4 separate regions of the Homo sapiens genome follow, and all the other regions are linked to region 1. The links are contacts of gene promoters, found by promoter capture Hi-C in blood cells and fetal thymus (Javierre and others, 2016). All regions are on one chromosome and are shown on one strand. Each heading gives the region's core, a stretch centred on a gene start or on the middle of the fragment in contact. The rest is flanking DNA. Distances are from core to core; before and after follow the strand shown. Region 1 holds the start of SLC44A1 (solute carrier family 44 member 1). Region 2 holds the start of FSD1L (fibronectin type III and SPRY domain containing 1 like). Region 3 has its middle 25 kb from the start of FSD1L. Region 4 overlaps SLC44A1 (solute carrier family 44 member 1).

The links. The method cuts DNA at HindIII sites, captures the fragments that hold promoters and counts their contacts. A CHiCAGO score of 5 or more calls a contact.
Region 2: the fragment with the promoter of FSD1L here is called in contact with the fragment with the promoter of SLC44A1 in region 1 in 8 of 17 cell types (activated CD4 T cells, naive CD8 T cells, total CD4 T cells and 5 more); the score reaches 7.9 in activated CD4 T cells.
Region 3: a contact is called between a fragment that was not itself captured here and the fragment with the promoter of SLC44A1 in region 1, in 1 of 17 cell types (M2 macrophages). The highest score is 5.1, in M2 macrophages.
Region 4: a contact is called between a fragment that was not itself captured here and the fragment with the promoter of SLC44A1 in region 1, in 1 of 17 cell types (M0 macrophages). The highest score is 5.0, in M0 macrophages.

Annotation. Positions count from the first base shown.
Region 1 is chr9:105,243,133-105,246,669 of GRCh38, forward strand. SLC44A1 (solute carrier family 44 member 1) reads left to right here and starts at 1,519. Exons shown (of 16, transcript NM_080546.5): 1 at 1,519-1,772. The coding sequence starts at 1,737. LOC112268038 (a long non-coding RNA gene) reads right to left here and starts at 2,461. Exons shown (of 3, transcript XR_002956866.2): 1 at 1,887-2,461. RefSeq lists enhancers at 1,161-2,065, 2,066-2,969 and silencers at 1,292-1,891, 1,902-2,041, 2,382-2,461. The HindIII fragment of the contact is 7,272 bases long and covers 1-3,537 here.
Region 2 is chr9:105,446,224-105,449,760 of GRCh38, forward strand. FSD1L (fibronectin type III and SPRY domain containing 1 like) reads left to right here and starts at 1,811. Exons shown (of 14, transcript NM_001145313.3): 1 at 1,811-2,012. The coding sequence starts at 1,998. RefSeq lists a silencer at 1,692-2,301. The HindIII fragment of the contact is 4,464 bases long and covers 737-3,537 here.
Region 3 is chr9:105,421,100-105,424,636 of GRCh38, forward strand. It overlaps a transcript of SLC44A1 not described here. Among named protein-coding and RNA genes, the nearest start is that of FSD1L, 25 kb to the right of the region's middle. The HindIII fragment of the contact is 4,715 bases long and covers 1-3,537 here.
Region 4 is chr9:105,382,615-105,386,151 of GRCh38, forward strand. It overlaps SLC44A1 (solute carrier family 44 member 1), which reads left to right. Exons shown (of 16, transcript NM_080546.5): 14 at 509-745; 15 at 2,808-2,888. Among named protein-coding and RNA genes, the nearest start is that of FSD1L, 64 kb to the right of the region's middle. The HindIII fragment of the contact is 2,916 bases long and covers 65-2,980 here.

The DNA.
Region 1 (3,537 bases), core at 269-2,768:
TCTCAATCAGTTGAGTACTTGCTGACCTAGCAGCACTTTCTTATGTTATTTAATCTTGACCACAAGCCTTTGCAGTCATCCCTGCTACCAGCATTTCACAGAAGCGGACAATGAGATTTGGAGAGATAACTCGTCCACAGTCACGAACTCAGGAAATGGCATAGGAAAACATCAATTAGGAATTCTTCTTCCCTGGCCCTTTCTGTAGCTGTCCCCTTACAGGCTACCATTCCAACTTTCCTTGGCTTAGATTCCCTTTCAGTGCATGTAAAGTCAATTTAATTCTGTGTTCTTTTCTTCCCTCTATACTTTAACTAATCTTTAAAACTTGATGTCTCATATTTGGTGAATCAGTCCTTTTGGAAGTCTCACTCCCTTGCAGCTTTGCAAATAAAGTTTTTCTTTTCTTTCCTGTGGCTGTCTTTTGAGACATTCTTTGACAAGATGAAATGACATATGAAGGCTATAACAGTGCCTGATAATGTGGGGTTTTTTTTAACATCATTATCTTTAGTTTTATTTCTTTCACTTTTTAACTGTTTTCACCTCATACTGTATTTCCTAACGACTCGTTTGGAATTGTAAATTTCTTGAAGGTAGTTACCACGTCTACTCTAACTTGTTGCTACTTCCTTGAGTCTTACTGATTTAGCAACAGGAACTTGGTAAGTCTCTTTTGCTCGCCTCTTTATTCCCAGTACTAGTCACTGGAACGTAGTGTGTCTTCAGTAAGTATTTTTAATATGAATAAATTAATGTCCCCTTATTGTTTTTTGTAGACTATCCTGTATAAGAAAGTTTAGCTTAGATCCAGTATGGCTTTGACTTGCGAGCCTGGATAACTTTTTGCCTTTTCCTCATTTCTGGCTATTTATTACCATTTCAACCTTGGGAACATTTCATTAGGTTCTTGGTCCCTTTCAAGCCTCAGTTTCCACATCAGCAAAATGGGGACAGTAGCAACAGATGCTTGTTTCTTCCCGTCTTCTTATCACCTATTCCTTCTCCAGGAAAGGTTTCTTGTGTACGCTTTCCTCTGGAGAAAAAAAACAGCCGACGGGGCGGTAAGAAGCCATCAGGATCCTGAGTTGTGCGTCCAGTAGGGAGAGGGAGAAGTCCCGCTTGCCTCCTAGATCCGGAAGCAATCCGGCCCCTTTTTGGCAGCGAGTTGGCCCGGTCTTTGGCTGCCTCAGACCGCGTTGCCCTCCAGCCTCGAGGCAGAGAGCTGCCTCGGTGCCACAGCTAAATAAGCCCGGCGCCGCGCAGCCTCTGACACGCGCGGAAGGGCCCGGCCTTGTTCTGGCTGCCGCCGCCCTGCCACCAGCACGGCGCTGCACTGGGGGCGGGGAGTCTGATGGGAGACGCGCGCGGCGCTGAGGAGGCGGCGGCCCGGGAGAGGGAGCGGGAGAGGGACTGGGCGCGGGAGGCGGGAGGCGGGGGGACAGAGGGAGGCGCCGCCGCCGCCGCCGCCCGCCCCTTTCCGCTGGGGAGCAGCTGCTGCAGCAGGAGCAGAGCAGGAGACGCGTAGCCGCCGTCGCCGCCGCCGGGGGATGTGGCCGGCGCCTGCCTCTAGCCGCGCCGCCTCTTGAGTACCAGCCGCCGCTGCAGCCGCCGCCGCCGCCTAGCCGTGCGGTGCCAGGCCGCGCCCTCCCCGGGCGCCCGCCGGCTCGCATGCCGAGGGGCTCCGGGGCGTAGCTGCGCGCCCGGCGCCGCCTCCGGGCTCCTTCGGCCCCGCCATGGGCTGCTGCAGCTCCGCCTCCTCCGCCGCGCAGGTGAGGGGCTCCCGCCTCCCGGCCGCCCGCCCGGATGCCTCCCGTGCGCCGCGTCGCGCGGCGGGCGCCCGCCGCCCGATACCTCTCGCTGTCCCCAGCCTCCCCTGAGCGCACCGTGCAGTCCAAAGACCCCCACTCCGCCTTTCCGTCCGCCGGGTCCCGCCGATGCCCGTGCGCTGGCTCCGCGGCTGCCGACTCAAAGGCGCCTCTGCGCGGCGCCTAGTGCGCCCTCAGCTCTTCCCGGCCCCTTCCCCAGTCGGCCCCCTCCTCCCAGTCACACCTGAGCTGCCCGTCCCGCCCGCCTGCAGGTAGAGGCTGCACTGGCGCCTCCTCTGCCCCAGGTGGCATCCCCTTCCCTGTTCTTCCGGGCCTGGCTCCTCTCTTCCACCTCCGTGGAGTCTCCCCGCCATCCGCCGCCCGTTTTCTGTGCTCCTCGCAGGTGTACCCCCAGCAAGAGCTCTTCACCTCTCCCACCGAATTCCAGTTTCTGCTTCATTAGATATTCTGTCCCTTTTCTCTTGCCCGCTGCCCCCTGGCTGGGTTCAGATGGTTTCAGCGGGTCCCGGAGCCCTTCCACGGCCCGCTCCGCAGACCTCGCTTGCTCGCTTGCACCCCATCCCCCCTTAGTGCCGTGACCCGGGCCCCGCGGCCTCCCCGCACTCGGAGGCCCCTGCGGGAGCGCCGACTCTGGGCTGGGAAGGAGATTGGGCACCTGGTGGGTGACGGGAGCGCTACGGAAACTCCCTCTTTGTTGCCAGTGTAACAGGAGGAAGAGGTTCCGAATTTAGTTTTTCTGTGGGCACTGGCTGAATGTTGTCGCTGAGGGCTGAGATGCAGAGATTTCTCTCAGCTTCTACCCTGCCCCCATCCAAATTTCGCCAACCTCCTTCTCTCGGATCCGAGCCCTTAACCTGGGTGGAAATGTTTAGACAACTGTACGAGGATCAAATGTAATAGAACTCGACTACTGGCCACTAATAACTGAGAGGACCTGTTTGTAAATTACCTAATTTAGTGGATTAGCGAGTGTATTTACAAATACTATAAAAAGCAATCAGGAATACTGCATCAAACTGTCTTGTGGTGGTGTATGAAAAATAGGCTCTGACAACGCCTGGGATGTAATCTCACAGTTTCATTAGCGTAGTTTCATTAACTGTGGTCTGTGATTTGTTTGTTTTAGGGGGCAGAAAAGGGCTCTTGTTTTTAGAAATAAAGGATGGTTGGTTCTTGGTGAAGAAAAACGCTAGTTTGGGGGGAAAAAATTCCTCCAGAAAGCTAGCATCTGTGATAATGCCAGAAGTGTTTTTGCTGCTGCTAAATGACTATATATAACTCAGTTTTAAATAACCTGCATACTTGTTCTGAAAATCTGAGATCTGTTAGAGAGAAAATGACTAGAATTGCAGATGAATGGGGGACATTTGTGTTTTATTAGGTATCCATCCTATCATCCTATTCCTCCAGTCTTTTTTTTTTTTTTTTGAGTGTTTGCTTACCCGTTAGCTTTTTTTTTTCCTGCTAGCATTATAGTCAGGCTTTTTGGTGTAGTTAAAGATTCCTATTCAGTTATAATAGCAAAGTAAAACTATACGTAGAGGTGTTAGGAAGGAGAGGCTTGGTATATCAGAGTTTTCATATTAACATATAAAGGTGTAGAATTGCACATAACTTTCAACTGGTTAGGAATTTGTGGGGGTCTAGTTGGGTGCTCTTTAATATTTACTTAAGTATAATTTTCACCAAAAAGGTGTTTTTCAGATTG
Region 2 (3,537 bases), core at 561-3,060, 200 kb after region 1:
TTGTTCCTACTTTCTAGAATGTTCTTCCCTAGATCCTTGTACAATTCCTCTTCTCACTTTATACTCAGGTCATTTCCAAGAGAGATCTTCCCTGACATTTCTATGAAAAATTAAACCCTCCCAATTCTCTGAATCCATTTGCCTTATTTATTTATTTAGGAGCTGGGGTCTCACCCTGTTGCCCAGGCTGGAGTGCAGTGGTGTGATCTAGGCTCACTGCAACCTCTGCCTCCAGGACTCAAGTGATCCTCCCGCTTCAGCCTCCTGATTGGCTCTGGCTACAGGCTTGCAGCACCACGTCTGGCTAATTTTTTTTTTTTTAATTTCTGTAGAGATGGGGTTTTGCCATGTTGCCCAGGCTGGTCTCGAACTCCTGGACTCAAGTGATCCACTCATTGGGCCTCCCAAAGTGTTGGGATTACAGGTGTGAGCCACCATGCCTGGCCTAAGTTTTAATTTTAGCACCTATAACCGTCTAGCACGTTAACTTTTTTTTTTTTTTTGGTTGGTCTTCTATACTAGATTGTAAGCTCTGTGAGAGAAACAGGGCCTTGCCCACTACTGAATTTTGTTTGTAGAACTGGTACAGAATAGGTACTCAATATGTATTTCCCTTTTATTCATTCATCATAAATGACTGTCTAATTGAACTTTTGTGAGCCTCTCCAGAGTCATCCAAATGGAAGATGAGGCCTGTCTGCTTGAGGAAGAACTTTCTCAAGCCTACTAAATTCCAAGCTTTCTAAAATCTTCATTGATGCCTCAGGCCACACCGAGCAGGTTCTAACTCCCCACTAAGAATGACTATAATGGGCCTGGCACATGCCCTGTAACCCACACCTGTAATCCTAGCAATTTGGGAGGCTGAGGTGGGCGGACTGCCTGAGCTTAGGAGTTCGAGACCATCCTAAGCAACATGGCTAGAACCAGTCTCCGCTAAAAGTACAAAAAATTAGCCAGGTGTGGTGGGGGCGCCTGTAATCCCAGCTACTCATGAGGCTGAGGCACGAGAATTCCTGGAACCCGGGAGGCAGAGGTTGCAGTGAGCCAAGATGGCACCACTGCACTCCAGCCTCGGTGACAGACCGAGACTCCATCTCCAAAAAAAAAAAAAAAAAAAAAAAAAGAGAATGACTATAATTTATTCACTACTAATTATGTACCATACGTTATTTAATCCTCACAATCCTCTGCAAAGTCCGCATTATTTCTCTCATTTTACAGATGAAACAAGCTCAGGCAGACTGACTTGCTCAAAATCATACAGGTAGCGAGGTGCCGGGGAGGATGGGTGGGTCCCCGGGAAAAACTGTGCCAGGCCCCAAAGCTCATATTAATCCCACACCCACGTTTCCGCCACTCTCATCCCTATATCCCTCCTCCCACGTTTCCACCACATCCCCTAAAGGTCTTTTCCCACGTTTTCGCTACATCCCCACCCCAGCCCTTTTCCTCCCTTTGGACCGCTGGGTCCGCTCAAGCCTGGCTGCCCCTCGAAGGATAGTGTGGGGAGGGGCTTCAGATGCGTGCTGGGTGGAGGGTGGGCTAATCCGTCTCCAGCACCAGATACTCTTTCCTTCCCGGGCCCTCCGCACCGGCCGGCTGCTGGATGCCCAGTGGCCTATTTCAGGGCCGGAGAGACCGCTATCGCTGGAGGAAAAAGGATGGGGGAAGGGAGTGCAGCCTGCAGAGGCACTAGCGGTAGACAGACGGGCGGCGCTCCCCACCCTCCACGGCTACTTCCCGGGAGCAGTCAGCCGCTGCGCGCAGGCGCGGTGCGCTCCTCAGCCCCTCCCTTCTGCGGGCCGCCCTTTCACCCTGGCAACCGCGGCGTGACTACGGCGCGCGCGGTCTGGGCGCGGACGGGTGGGGCCGGGCGGTGCCGGTGCGGGCTGGGGCAGTGCAGTGAGTAGCGGTCTTGGGGTGTGCGATCTCGCTGAGCCTCCTCACACGGTTCGTCGTCTCGGGTTCGAGCCCAGTGGGCTTAGCCACTCGCCATGGACTCCCAGAAAGTAAGCGGGGGAGGGGAGCCCGGGGCTACCGAGACAAGCCGGGCCGGCACAGGGTGGGCGGGGCGCCTGGGCCCGTGGGCTGTGGGTGCGCGGGGTGGGCCTGGCCGGGCGTCCGGGCTGCTGCTGCGGAGGGCAAGGCCGCCCGGCCGCTCTCTGGGCGGGAGCTAAGAGGCGCCCACACGGATGCGGGGACCGCGCCCGGTGACTCGGGCTGGCCTCTGCTCTGCGCGCTGTCCGGGGCCCTGACTCTGGAGGAGAAACGGAGCCATCCCCCTTTTAAAATCAGCCACTCTGCAGCGCTTTAGGCCGGTTTTCATGCCTGCAGACTGCGAGCGTGCTGGTGGGGGTGTATCCCTCCTCAGCAGGTGAGGAAACCGAGGCACAGCCTTTTTGGTGTCTCCCTGCTGACGCCGAAAGCTGGGGCTTTCTCCTCGACCAAGTCTCGTCTCAGCACCACGCTCTTTAGGTCAGGGACCGAATCTCCTTTGTACCGCCCACCGCTCCCCTTCCCATGACTTTTCCTAAGTAGATCTTAGTGTTTAGTGTTCGTTGAATGGAGGGAAAAGACTTCAATTGTTAGGGCAGCCTTCCCACTCTCTGACCAGTTGGTGTTGCTGGGCACAGTTACTTAGGGGTCGTTGTGGAATGTTTTATACTTTCCGAACAGTTGAGGAAAGGTTATATAATCGTAAAGGTTCAATTCAGAAGTATTTGGAGAACAAAGCCAATGTCTTGAATACAGTTAGAAGTGAATTATTCAGTCATAATCTCCATATGAAAATAACCACCCTGTTCTCTTTGTTAGACTATAACGTAATTGAAATATAGTACAGGGTAGGAAAGAAAAAACAAGGAGTATTAATAATGTAGCAGGGAAAACAAAGACATATCTAAGAGACTATTCTTTTCTATTATTAGAAAGCACGGGAAAGACTTAGAACAACGTTTTCTACAATTTTGTCTACATTCACCTTCTTGAGGATCACTTCACTGAGGGCATGAGAGAATAATGATGTGTTGAGCATTGACTATTACAGTATTTAACAAATATGCATATGATTTCATTGTATGTGTTGGTCTTGAAACTCACCTTGGAATGCATGACTATTCTTAAGGCATTTTTTAAAAATTAGATTTTGTGTATTTTGAGTATGTATAGGTTTAAAATATTGTCTCTGCCTAAATTTGTAAAACATCTCTCAGCTTATTAGATAAAAGAAATGATATTTGAATGGACATTAGCAGAGGTCAAGTGAAGGAGCAAAGTCCGGAGACATGGGTTCCAGGATGCTATTTACTAGCTCTGTGATAAGGAGCAAGTCACTTAACTGTGATTAATCTGTTTCCTCATCTATGCAGTAGAAGTAAGAGTATTTTATAGTGTCATAGTAAAAATCTGATAAAATAGTTTGTTCTGAAAACACAGCATTTTAAAGTTTACAAAGTATGACCACTAAAATACTGTGTCCCATAAAATACAAAAAAATGTGTTTTAATATTGATCATCATACTTTATCAGGGATGC
Region 3 (3,537 bases), core at 564-3,063, 180 kb after region 1:
AACTATTTCACCTTAAAATTATTTATTTTCCTTATAAAACAATACCTGGAAGTGGTTCCTCTGGTTTTCAAATATATGATGTGATAAATGGAATGCATTAATATTTTATGAATTAGATGTGCTGGAATGGCATACATTGCTCCTGGAACAGCTATCATTTACTGAACACTTTTTCTCCTTTTGCCTAGTAAGCAAAAGCCACTGTGCTAAGGGCTTTCTAGGCATTATCTTTAAATCCTTGTAAGAATCATGAGACAGAGAGTGGTTCCCATTTTAAAGTTGAGATCACAATGACTCAGAAACTTAAGTTATATTACTAGAGGTCAGAGAGCCTCTGGCAAGTTATTCAACTAAGCATTAGAGCCACCGTCATTAAAAGAGTTCTGGATTACAGGAGTTTATATAGTAACCCACATTCAGAGAATAGAGCAGCGACACTCATAATCCAATCTTGCATTAGGTTCACAAGACTTCAGAAATCTCTTTTTTTTTTTTTTTTTTTTGAGACAGAGTTTCCATCTGTCGCCCAGGTAGGCAGAGTGCAGTGGCGCGATCTCGGCTCACTGCAAGCTCCGCTTCCTGGGTTCACGCCATTCTCCTGCCTCAGCCTCCCGAGTAGCTGGGACTACAGGTGCCTACCACGGCGCCCGGCTAATTTTTTGTATTTTTAGTAGAGGCGGGGTTTCACCGTGTTAGCCAGGATAGTCTCAATCTCCTGACCTCTTGATCCACCCGCCTCGGCCTCCCAAAGTGCTGGGATTACAGGCGTGAGCCACCGCGCCCAGCCAGGAATCTGCTTTGAATTCCTTCAGCACACTGGTGCATTGTCAGTATTTTTCAGTCTTGCACAGGCCTAACTTTTCCAGTAAGTTCGGACCTCTGGTAGAAGTGACTACAGTACTGAGCATACTCAAGTGTTTCACTGAGTGCCAGTTGAGAGAGGTGACAGCGTTAGGTTGGACTCTCCTACCTGAGTGATGACAATAAGGAAGTCCACCAACTTCCTTTTTATCCTCAAGGTCAGAGTTACATCTAGCAACTTAGGTACTCAAGCCAAGTAGTTAGAAATTTCCCCTTAAATCAGCAGGGTGGAAGCTGGTCCCTCTGTACTGCACAGAAAGGGGCCCTCATGATCTCATGATGCAGGACTCCTGCCCTGACCTTGGGCCTCCTGCTCCATCCTTTTTTTTTTTTTTTTTTTTTTTTTTGAGACAGAGTCTTACTCTGTAGCCAGGCTGGAGTGAAGTGGCACCATCTCGGCTCACTGCAACCTCTGCATCCCGGGTTCAAGCAATTCTCCTGCCTCAGCCTCCTGAGTAGCTGGAACTACAGGCGCGTGCCACCACACCTAGCTAATTTTTGTATTTTTAGTAGAGACGGGGTTTCACCATGTTGGCCAGGATGGTCTTGATCTCTTAAACTGGTGATCTGTCCCTTCAGCCTCCCAAAGTGCTGGGATTACAGGTGTGAGCCACTGTGCCCAGCCCCATCCTTTATCAGCGGCCATGAGACAGATCCCTGGATAGGACAGACCTACCTCATATGCTGGAGAATTGCTGTGGCCATTTGGCTAATTAGAGGGCCAAATTTGCATTGTAAAATGGTACCCACTAAATTATAATTCCCTGGGGGCAAAGCCTATTTTCAGTGTCCTACTTCTGGTTTGCGTGAAGTTGAACATTTTTTCTTACAAACTCTCAGTGGCACCACCAATTTAAATAAAGAGGGAATTTTAGCTTATCTTGTCTGGTGTCCAGAATCAAACAAGTTTGTGGGTAGAATATCCAAGTCACTCATGTTAAAAACTCTAGAGTTCTCCATTACACTTCCTTCTCCCCGATCATCTCCTAACCCCTAGCAAGGAGCAAAGTTAGATTTATGTCAGGCCCTGTGTGGGACATAGTAGGTACTTATTGAATGAACAAAGGAAAACTGGGACGGAAGGAAAGAGGGAGGGAGACAGAATTTGAGTGTTTGAAATCTACTCTTATGTTAACAGTGTGAGGAAACAGCTCTTTTGAAAGTCATTTGGAAACGTGTATTAAAAATCTCAAGAATGGGCCAGGCGTGGTGGCTCACGCCTGTAATCTCAACACTTTGGGAGGCCAGGGTGGGCGGATCACCTGAGGTCGGGTGGGCGGATCACCTGAGGTCAGGAGTTCGAGATCAGCCTGACCAACATGGTGAAACCCTGTCTCTACTAAAAATACAAAAATTAGGCGGGTATGGTGGCACATGTCTGTAATCCCAGCTGGTCCAGGAGGCTGAGGCAGGGAGAATCACTTAAACCCAGGAGATGAAGGTTGCAGTGAGCCGAGATTGCCCCATTGCACTCCAGCCTGGGCAACAGAGCGAGGCTCGGTCTCATAAAATAAAATAAAATAAAATCTCAAGAATGTGCACATTTTTATCCAGCAATTCTGTGTTTAGAAATTAAGGACATGTGAAAAGATTTTGCTGCAAATCAGACTATTGTTCCTTGTTATAAAATATTGCAGCCAACCTGAATACCCAACAATAGAGAATCAGGTGAATGAATTATAATACATCTAAACCGCTTCTTCCTCTAACCTTTCATATCTCAGTAAATAGTAACACTGTTAAACCAGTTGTTCAAGCTGGTAACCTAGAATCATTAAATTTCCCTTTCTTTCAACTTGTCATTTTGAGTCTTGCCATTTTCCAAAATATACAAGGAGTCATCTTATAGATGTATTAACTTATGAGAGCAATAGATGTCATCAAGCCTAAAAGCCAATCTATCAAGAAAATCTGAATGCTTTTAAGGGTTTACTCACCATGGATATAGAAGGAAACATTGTTCAAGTAACCAGGTAAGTGGGTGTTGATTCCAACATCATGGAAGATGAAATTAAATTAATTGAGAGCCATAGGGAAATATGGACAAGGAAAAATTAAAAATAATAATATAGGGCTGCATACATAAAACACATATGTACAGTATTGTACTTTATGGATGATTTAAGAGATTTTTCAGAGTTAATTTTGATTAGATGCAATCAGTACAATCTTTAGATCCTGAACACCAGGCTCCCTGCTCTTGCCCTCCTCTCTCTGGTCCTCTTCCATGGGGCAAGGAGTCCACCATGGGATTAAGGGGACAGGCCCACCCTAAGCCTAATACCACTCTCCAGAATCCTAGTACCCTAGAACTCCCTCCCAAGACAAGGCCTGTATGAGTTTCTTCTCCAGATACTTCTTCCTAAGGATGGATACTGGCTGTGATTGTAGCAGGAGATGTGGCTGGAGCTTGCCCTTGTGGGCTCAGGTGTCCACAGGTAAGCGTGAGCAGCCCCTCCTAGTGTGGGCTGGGGCGAGGAGTGGGAAGAGAATGGGAGCAGAGTCTTCCATTTGTCCTCTTGCCTCAGACCTCACTAATGTTAGTAGTCATCCTGAATGCAATGTTTACTGCTAACTAGTCATACTAACTAACTTTCTCAGTCCCATATAGGATATGATCCCATTAGATCTCAACTTCAACTATTATATCAACAATGGTGATAAATAATTAGTATT
Region 4 (3,537 bases), core at 273-2,772, 140 kb after region 1:
TGAAATTATGTAGCTGAGTAAATATGAAGCATTTATAATGATACTTCTATGTATATTAATGAAAAGCTTATAGTGATTTGTTTATATAATACTATTTCATATATGTGAAAATGCTTAGAAAAAATACATACCATTACACTGAAATATCACTTTTTTTCTGAGTGCTAAGAGTTTGTAAATTTTTTCTAAAATATGCATACATTTATCTTAAAAATTGCCACAGATTCTAAATAGATTAAGTTTTAGGGTGCAGCATAGCATTTGGAAAACTTAATTATGTTTAAACCAGAATCATTTAAAGTATGATTTTAAAATTTATATTATATGATAAGCATGTATAACTCTGGGTGTATATGAGAATATGTGGATTATATTTCCTCATTTGAGATGGAATGGCCTCATGCAACCATCATTTATAAATAGTAGAATTTTAAGTCTGCAAATGGTGAAAAAAGAGTGGCTTTCTTCAGTAGGATATTAAATATGATCTTTGTTCTCTCTGCTTCAGGTGCTGATAGTCTGCAGCACAGGTTTAGCTGGGATTATGCTGCTCAACTACCAGCAGGACTACACAGTATGGGTGCTGCCTCTGATCATCGTCTGCCTCTTTGCTTTCCTAGTCGCTCATTGCTTCCTGTCTATTTATGAAATGGTAGTGGATGTATTATTCTTGTGTTTTGCCATTGATACAAAATACAATGATGGGAGCCCTGGCAGAGAATTCTATATGGATAAAGTGCTGATGGTAAGTACTTCAAATGCCGTTTCCTATTTTAGGGATAAAAATACCAATAAAAATATTTTGTAAAACATTCTCTATATTTAATTCACACTATATGCAACTGAGTAATTTAGAATTAACCCCATAGCACTGACTCATAAATGAGGTTAATCTAGGGTAAGTCAGGGAGGACGGCTTCTTGGCATGGACAAGATCATTTCAGATCCACCTAGCTAGAGCAGTACTGGTTAATAGTCCTAAGTTCACCCTATTCTTGCTGCCCCTCTCTCTGTAGTTAGATAGATTTGAATTGACTTTTTAAACTAGCTTCTAGCCTTTTCCTGAAATGGGGCTCAAAGACAAAATATCCTGTTTCCCAGGTCCTAGTGCCTACCTGTCTTTCTCTATCCACCACTGCCCCAAACATTACTGCTGTCAACCCTGGTTAAAACTCATTATCTTAAATATGGTAGGCCAAATTGAAAGCATTTTGTGATGAATACCGATAACAGACCCATGACTGGTAGAGTGTATAGTTATTTATTAGTCAAGATCTGAACCTTTACACAGATATATGCAGATTTTTCATATTAGAACCTCAATTAAATTTCTTTAAAATTTTGAAAACCTTATTAAATGGTTTAAGTACTGTTATAATCAGTGTTAAATGTTACCAAAGTAAAGATGCTTTCTAAATAATAGTAGTTTGCTATTAAGCTGTGAAATATTTCTATCTCAAAATGGGTAATATTGAATACTAAGCATTATACATTGAAATAACAAGTCATTTTCCAGGAGCATATTTTATCCAGTTAAATCTAAAATAAGTGTATTAATAAATAAGCTAGATTTTTTTTTTTTTCTTTTTGAGACGGAGTCTTGCTTTGTCACCCAGACTGCAGTGCAGTGGCATGGTCTTGGCTCTGCAACCTCTACCTCCCAGGTTCAAGCAGTTCTCCCTCAGCCTCCCAAATAGCTGGGATTACATGCATGTGCCACCACTCCTGGCTAATTTTTGTATTTTTAGTAGAGATGGGGTTTTACCATGTTGGCCAGGCCGGTCTTGAACTCCTGTCCTCAGGTGATCTGCCTGCCTCGGCCTTCCAAAATGCTGGGATTACAGGTGTGAGCCTCCATGCCCAGCCTAGATTTTTTTTTTCTTTTCAATAGCAAGAATTCCAAATGATTTAGCTGACCTATTTGGCACTGATTTTCTCTTTTTCTGGCAACATCAGCTAAATTCTGGACATTTTCTTAATGTCTAAACTAATTCTAACTGGTTATTTTCTTAATGGAATTTGATCATGATTATTGTATCTCTTTTGTGACTAAAGCATTTAGAAGAGTGTTACTGTTTTTTAAGTCACTGATCAAAAGCAGAGTAAAAAATAACTGTTTTCCACCCTTCAGTTTTCTCTGTAGGAATGGTGAGGATATTTAATGAAGAAGTTCCCCGTAAACGTTGACAGAATAGAAATGTTCCCTTTGGGCACATTCCCATTTCGACTACTACTAACCATAGGTTCTGGTTGATACACCCTGTCTTCCTGCTTCATGAAGTAATGTCATGGTCAGATTGACACTTTTTTTAAAAAGAGTAGTTTGTTTATGGTTTGGTTAAGAAAAAAAGCATTATGTGCTTAGCAGTATCAATGTGTTCTTTTACCTTCTATGGTTATTTAAAAGTGGAGGCTTATGGAGTAACGTGTTCTTGTTGTTTCATTTAACCTTGATATAGAAAAAAACAACAACAACAAATAAAATGATATTCTGAGTATGAGAAAATAGCCTCTTAAAAATGTTAGGTATTTTCTCTTCCAGGTAGAACTAACATTATCTCTTGGAGCCTTAGTAAGATTGTCACAATGAATGGATGGAAAGAAGATTTTTTTAATCAGCGAATTGCAGAGTCCATTTCTACAAATTTAGCAACTCTCATGTGTGATACTAAACATTATTTATTGCTATGTTTTTAAGCCATCCATTTACCAAGATTGAGTCAAAAATGTAGATGTTCTTTAGAATTCATCTACTAACAAATCTGAAAGGACCCAAGAATTTATTCAATATGGTCCATATTTTGCAGGAGTTTGTGGAAAACAGTAGGAAAGCAATGAAAGAAGCTGGTAAGGGAGGCGTCGCTGATTCCAGAGAGCTAAAGCCGATGGTAGGTGGAGATGAGGAGGTGGCCGCCCTCCAAGAATTTCACTTTCACTTCCTCTCTCTCTCTGTCTTCACTGACTGCACTTCTTCAGGAGAAGCTTTTGTTATCTGTATCACGCAGGACATGCTGCTCTTTCTGTTTGTGTGCTTACCCATCACTTGGATGGCAGAATTCTTGTCACAACTGAGACCACCTTCTATAAAAGTAAGCTGAAAGGAACAGCATCCTCGTCAGTGCTCGGCAGGGGCGGGTAGGGGATGATGGTTTTTTCCCTAAGGTAAAACTGCTGTTGCTCTTGTTTCCTTTTTAACTGTCAGTGTTTGGCTTTCATCAGACTGAACATTTTGGTGTACACTTGAACTGACGGTTTGATTTTTATCATTTTGGAAGGTGATCATAGCAATTCCTTTCAACTTGCTAAAATTCATACTCCCCCTTTTAAAAGTATGGTTCTGCTTACATTGCTGTCCTTTTCCCTTGGCTGACTTTTTCTTCTGTTGCCTAGGTTGTACTTTCTTTGTTTCTTAAGCTATTTTTCAGTAGCAAACAAGGCTGTTTTCATCAATACCCACATTCCCACTCAGTAAGACAATCTAGTCTTCTCCCAGTTTAATTGTGAGATGGATAAATTATTTCTGGTAGTTGATATTAT